Regions from separate parts of the Homo sapiens genome. Here region 1 is linked to region 2. Evidence: promoter capture Hi-C in 16 types of primary human blood cells and fetal thymus (Javierre and others, 2016). All regions are on one chromosome and are shown on one strand. The core of a region is centred on a gene start or on the middle of the fragment in contact, and the rest is flanking DNA. Distances in the headings are between cores, read along the strand shown. Region 1 overlaps NUS1 (NUS1 dehydrodolichyl diphosphate synthase subunit). Region 2 holds the start of ASCC3 (activating signal cointegrator 1 complex subunit 3).

Region 1 (3,207 bases), core at 153-2,652, about 17 Mb after region 2:
TTCAGAAGTATCCTGTGTCATAGTTGCTAAAAGAAAAATGATTAGTAATTAAAAGGAAGAAGTAAGCTAAGCCAAGTTTTGGCTGAGAACTGAAAGGCACCTTAAGGAGCATTTTCAGTGAAAGGGCTTACAGGATTTTGTATCTTAACTGTAAAATCAGTTTTTTTGTTTGTTTTTTTTAAAAGAATAAGAAATATTCCTGAAATAAGAGACCTTCAATTAGTCCATTCTTGGTTTTGATTCGTTCATACATTCATTTACAGGTGACAGTTGGGGTCTGTTAAGTACCAGATACTCTTCCAGACATGGGAATGCAGCAGTGTACTCATGGAACTTAGATTTCAGTGGGAGTCTGACAAATAATATACGTGGGTAAATATGTGGTAATGTAAGTGCAATGAGGAAAAGTAAAGCAGAGAAGGGAAGATAGGAATGTTGAAAGTCAGTGGTGTAGGAAGGGGTACAGTTTTAAATAGGGAGGCCAAGGAGAGGCTCTTTGAATATAGACTTGAAAATATAGGCCATGTGGATATGTAAGAATCACTCAGAGGGAGTATAGACATGTAAGCTTTATTTAGTGTTTCTTTTTCAGTGGTTTTTTTTTTTTTTTTTTTTTGAGACGGAGTCTCGCTCTGTCACCCAGGCTGGAGTGCAGTGGTGTAATCTAGGCTCACTGCAACCTCCGTCTCCCAGATTCAAGTTCTCCTGTCTCAGCCTCCCCAAGTAGCTGGGACTACAGGTGATGCGCGCCACCCCGCCCTGCTAATTTTTGTATTTTCAGTAGAGACAGGGTTTTGCCATATTGGCCAGGCTGGTCTCAAACTCCTGACCTCAGGTGATCTGCCTGCCTCAGCCTCCCAAAGTGCTGGGATTACAGGTGTGAGCCACTGCGCCCGGCCATATTCAGTGTTTCTAAATAAATGTCTATTTAAGCTTATTTCTAGATAGATATTTAACTATGAAAAATCCTATTGACATACTCGTAAATGCCACTGGGATACAAGAAGTACAAGAAATGGTGTCTCTTAAAGAGTTTCCACTCAAGTAAGGATGTCCATTAAAAATTAACACAAGCTAATATAGAAATGCTAAGTGAATGGCAGATACTTTAAGGAGCGAAAAATGGAAAATTTCCCGGGTTACCTCCATATTTGTCTGGTAAGGAAGGGAGCAACACCTGAGCTGGACCTAGTCAAAAAGATAGAATTGGGATTGGCGTGAACAGTGTTCTCTGTGTGTGTGAATGGGGATTTCCCTAATGGCAGCATTCTCATTAGACTAGGTTCAGTAATAGCATTGAGTAGAGTGTTGGGAGCAGTGAATTTATGTAATGAACAGTTGGGAAATGAGGTAGGATGAAGGCTTGGACAGCTATTCTGGTTACCTACTGCTTTGTAGAAATCTACCCAAAGCATAGTGTTTTAAAACAACAATTTATATATTGACTTAGTTCAGTTGGGCAGTTTTTCCTTTGGGTCACTCATAGCTTTCATTCAGATAGAGTCTGGGACCCAAAGGTTTCTCCTTATGTCTGGTGCCTGGTTTTTGATGGCTGAAATAGATGGGGCAGGTTGGTCATCTGGCTTCACATGGTCTGGAGGTTGACTTCAGGGTAACCAGTTAACTAACTTCCCCCAGAACAAATGTTTCCAGAGACTTGGCCAAAGGCTGAAGCTGAAAGATGTCTTAGGACCTAACCTAGGAAATCATGCAGTGTTATTTTTGCTATGTTCTCTTGGTCAGAGAAGTCTCACATCTGTTCTGCATCAAGAAAGTGGAGAAATGGACTTCACCTCTCAATGAGAAAATGGCTTGTGTAGAAAGGTTGGGTGAGGATTTGAAGGGAGATGGACGGGCAGCCACTTTGAAGACAAGCTTACCACCTTACATTTTATTCTGTCCTACACCCCTTTGCTCTCAAATTTGTACTTAAATTCGTTCTAATTATGGTTGGATCTAGATAACAACATTTAATCCTTAGACTAAAAGATCTATTATATTGACCTTAATTTGACTGCCAGCAAACTGATCTTTTTGTTTTTCACTACCTGCAATATTTCTTGATTATAATAGAGTCTGCAAGTAATTCTTTCATCTTTCAAAAATTCAGGTTGTTCTCTCAGGACAGTGATCAGGAATTTTTTGAGTTCAGAATTCTAGCGAGATTTGGCTGTTCTGTCTATATGATTATAATTTAAGAAATGACCATAACTGGGATGGTACAAGAACCAGGGGTTGGGGTAAATGGATTTTATTGTTCTAGCCTTAGCAGTGTTGTTTGCCTGTGTCTCACATGCAGGTACACTTGGCTCCAAGTTATCTGGATATGTATTGTTATCTTAAGTGATGGAACTTGTTCTTATTTCCTGGCTTTATTGTGCCTTGCTGGGAACCTTGCTGTTGATTGGTATTTTTCAAAACCTGTCTGTGGACCATCTGTGAATTAGTCATTGGGGATGCTTATAAAAAATGCAGATTCAACACACTTAGTAATCAAACTTAATGAGGGAACTGGGACCTGGGCGTCTCTGTTTTTATCAAGCTACCTGTATGATACTTCTGCACACTGAAGTTTAACCCTAACACAGATCAAAGGATACTCTGCTACTTGCCTTACATTAGATTATTTATATTTCATGTTCCTTTTCATGATTGAGGATAATTTGGGGTAAGCCTTAGGATTATTTGCTGTAAATTGGAATGATCCAGAATAAGGCATTGCCTTCTGTGTGAGAATTCAACAGTAAGACAACAAATTTTTTTTGTGTGCTGCTCTTTCTAGTGCTATTTCCTTAGTTTATTTAAATCGAAGCTAGGTTGCTTTTGAAATGGTTTTTGGGTACAGGTTTCTCACAGTAACATTTTAAAAGTCTGCCCAGTGTATCCTATCTTTTCAACCTGTTTCTCAATGCTTTGCATACCTTTTGCTATGTCTGTATTTAGGTATTTAATGTTCCAGTTTCCTGGAACTCCCTCTTCTCCTTTTTCTGGCAAATGGCTGTATGCCTACCAAGAGGCTATTGTTCATCTTTTCCGAGTCAATCCTAAATATCACCTTGTATATTTTTGCCTTTCTTGACTATTCACTCCGTTCCCTATCTTACTATATCTCTGAATCTCCTCAGAACTTCAAACATCTCTAAAGGTACTTCTGTTCTCTGCTTTGTGTAGTCATATTTGTATGTATATGTGCATAAACTTTCTTAC
Region 2 (3,380 bases), core at 213-2,712:
GACAATAACTTTTTCTTTTAAAAGCTTTGTTTTGGTTAACTACAGATCCATGGCATGAGAAAGAACCCTAGTCAAGATTCTGTCTTAAAAGGAGGCTGCTGGATTATAGAAAGTTCATGAGCACAGAGACTGTCTCTCTCTTGCTCTCCTAGGCCTAGCCCAGCGTTTGACACATAGGAAGACTTGAATGAATGAATGACAAAAAACTGTTAAGCAGGGATCAAGAAAGCTGAACCATGAAAAATTAATTTCTCATATAAATAGGATTATTTAGCCTAAGCTTAAGAGCATCTTTAAGGATCATTTTTCTCATGCAAGACTATTATAACCATCATTAAAAAAAAGAGACAACATAAACTGGAGCACAATCCATAGTAAAACCAAAAGCTTAATTCTCAACATTTGAGAACTTTGAGAATCAGAAAAAGGATTTCAATCTATGAAACATAAAATCTGGTGATGGAGAAAATGGCTGTCAATCTCACCTAACCTAGGGAAAGAAAGAAAATGTAACCATGAGTTTGAATGCACAAGTGACAACACATCAAACTTTTACCAGCCCCTAGAATTATGCTTCTTTTAAACCAAAGAATAGCAAATACCATTAGCACACTGCATTCCATGAGTAAGTTAATTTATAAGAAACCTATTTGAAATGACTGCCCAGTACTCACAAAACCTCCCTAGCACCCACATACACATTTATTTATTTCAAAATGACATTATAGGCTCCTTGATTGCGAAATTCACCCACAATCCATCACGGTCAGCTACCTATTTACTTTCCAGTGTGTTGGGGGAAAAATATGAGGAAGATTTCTTTCCCCAAATCTACGTGAAGAAAACGAAGTTATCAAGGCTTTGTAACAGAAAAAAAGAAAACAAATTACCCATGCATGGGACAGAAAAACCTCATCTGGTCACGTTGTGGCTTAACACTTGGACAATATGTAGCTTAGGTTAAGTTTTCTATCCCCAACCCCACCTACAAACTCTAGGAATGGGCGGTATTGTTGCGAGACCCCGGACTCGACCTCATGCCACTGAAAAGGATGACAGGTCGGGACTTGCCCCGGAGGCAGGAAGAGAATCTCTGGCGGGTCGCGTAGCCCGCCTCGCCGTCCCCGCCTCCAGCCAGCTCCCCTGGCCGCGGCGACCCTTCTCGTCCTCCCACCTCCACCTCCACCTCCTCACCTCTCGGCCTGGCTCACGCGTTTCCCATCACTCTGTCAGCTCCTGCCACCGCGCCTTCTTCCCTTTCGGTTTTACTTTAACTTCCCACGCCGGGTGAGGAGCTGAGCGCAGGGCCAAAGATGCGAGCGGGCAGCTGTATCGCCGCGCCCCGTCCGCCCTCCAAGCCGCGCTTGCCGGGGTCGCGCCCAGTCACAGGGAACCGCGTGTGAGGACCATCAGTCAGACAGACAGACGCAAAGACGCACAGACCCGGCGAGGAGGGACAGAGTGGAGCTGGCGCCGGCCTACACGTCACCGCCCCGCTGCAGCGCCAACGTCGGCACGTCGACTCGTCGACTCCGGGCCCTCTGCCCCGCCCGCGTGCGCGCGCCGCTCCGCCTCCCGCCTCCAGCCTCTAGTCCGCTGGGTTCGGAGGAGCAGAGGCGGAAGGTCCCGGCGGCGGCGAGGATGCGCCCCAGGGCGGGAGCGGGACGCTCCACTTTACCCTGGCTGCCCGCAACGGGCCAGGCCTGCCGTCTCTACCTCTCTACCTGTGAGTTTTTTCCCTGCATTTACTTCAGTCTGCCGCGTCTTCTCCCCGCCCTTCTCTGTAAGGTAAATATGTGGAGGAAATAATTCCTATTAAAGGTAAAGGAAAGGAGAGCAATTTGAATGAAGAAACAGGTAGTTGCTATCGTCGTTTTCAGCCAAAGCCCTCTGGCTGCTAGAGAGTATACATGGTTCTCTGGTGTCAAGGCCTGTTTTCCATAAGCTTTCTGGATTCTCAGCTTAGTTCCCTCAAAGTGATCTCTGCAAGTCGGCTCTTCGGTCAGAAGACCTCCTCCAAAAACAGAAAGCCCAAAGATTCCCTAACTCGATTGAAAAGATAGGAAGATACGAAGAAAAACTAACCTAAAGAATTGTGTGGTTTATCTGCAAAGAGTTCTAGACTAAAAGCCAACAATGCAAAGATAGTATGAGTTAATATGTTTGTTGTGGCTCTCTTCTGCCATTCCCGCTTCCTCAAGGTAATGTGCCCCGATGCCTGGTAGAACTGTTTTGTAGAGGCAGCCAATAGTGATCCAGTTATTGTCTTTACTGGTCAGACCACCTCTGAAGTGCTGTGTTCAGCATTTGAAGACTTTAATCAAGCTGGCATTATATCAGGGAAGAGCAAAATGATGACGAGAACTCAAAAACAGGGCAAGTGAAGAAGGATTGATTAAACCTTCCAGGACTCACCTAGAAGAGAGAAAACTACTGGACTCTCTCCAAATATGAAATGACCTATCATGTGAAGTTGATTTGTTTCATGTGATGCAAACTTCAGGGAACAGATTTAAGATCCTGAAAAGAAGATGCCCTTGTAGCACGACCCAAAGAATTGCCTACCTTAGCATGTGTGAATACCTCAACCACAGAATTTTGCTTCAAGGAGATTCTGAAGCTCACTTAATAGGGACTTGGTACAGGGGAGCCACACATCAACAGAATAATTAGTTGATGGTTTTGTTAAAGATATTTCCAGTCTTGAGATTACATGTGTCTTTGGTCCTGGACTTCATAGAGTTTACAAGTTAGTTCATGAGACAAGACAAATGCATCACAAAAATAAATAATGCAAGGAGGCCAAGTGATAATGAGAGGTGCTGATAAGTGCTAGGAATTCACATGACAGATTATTCCCATCACAGTTCCAGAGGCTTAAGGGAGAAGAGAGGAACTGAAAATAGACTACCTAGAACTGCCCTATCCATTGGGGTAGCCACCAGTTAAATACGTCTCTTGACATTTGAAATGTGGCTTGTCCAAACTGAGACATGCAATGAGTCCAAAATGTACACCAGATTTCAAAGACTTAGAAAACAAATGTAAAATATTGTAATTCTTATGTCGATTACATGTTGAAATAATATATAATGGATCAAATAAAATATGTTAAAATTAATTTCAACTTTATTTTTACTTTTTATGTGACTTCTAGAAAATTTTTAATTACATAGGTGGCTTGCATCATATTTGTATTACATAGTCCTGGCCTGGAAGGAAATTCAGTTAGCCCTCTGTATCCATGGCTTCTGTATATGTGTCAACCAACTTTGGAACAAAAACAATTGAAAAAAAAAAAAAAAAAGAATGGTAATGTCTGCATTGAACACGCACAGACTCTTTTTTTCTTGTCATTATTTCCTTAACAATATGGATGT

Evidence for each region. Contacts are between HindIII fragments. The CHiCAGO score rates a contact against its expected background, and 5 or more counts as called.
Region 1: a contact is called between a fragment that was not itself captured here and the fragment with the promoter of ASCC3 in region 2, in 1 of 17 cell types (non-activated CD4 T cells). The highest score is 10.6, in non-activated CD4 T cells.

Annotation. Positions count from the first base shown.
Region 1 is chr6:117,678,083-117,681,289 of GRCh38, forward strand. The region is part of intron 1 of NUS1 (NUS1 dehydrodolichyl diphosphate synthase subunit); the gene reads left to right. Among named protein-coding and RNA genes, the nearest start is that of NUS1, 4.2 kb to the left of the region's middle. The HindIII fragment of the contact is 942 bases long and covers 932-1,873 here.
Region 2 is chr6:100,879,867-100,883,246 of GRCh38, forward strand. ASCC3 (activating signal cointegrator 1 complex subunit 3) reads right to left here and starts at 1,463. Exons shown (of 42, transcript NM_006828.4): 1 at 1,195-1,463. It overlaps LOC107984041 (a long non-coding RNA gene), which reads left to right and starts at 1,591. Exons shown (of 8, transcript XR_007059692.1): 1 at 1,591-1,788. RefSeq lists an enhancer at 1,307-1,426. The HindIII fragment of the contact is 1,558 bases long and covers 386-1,943 here.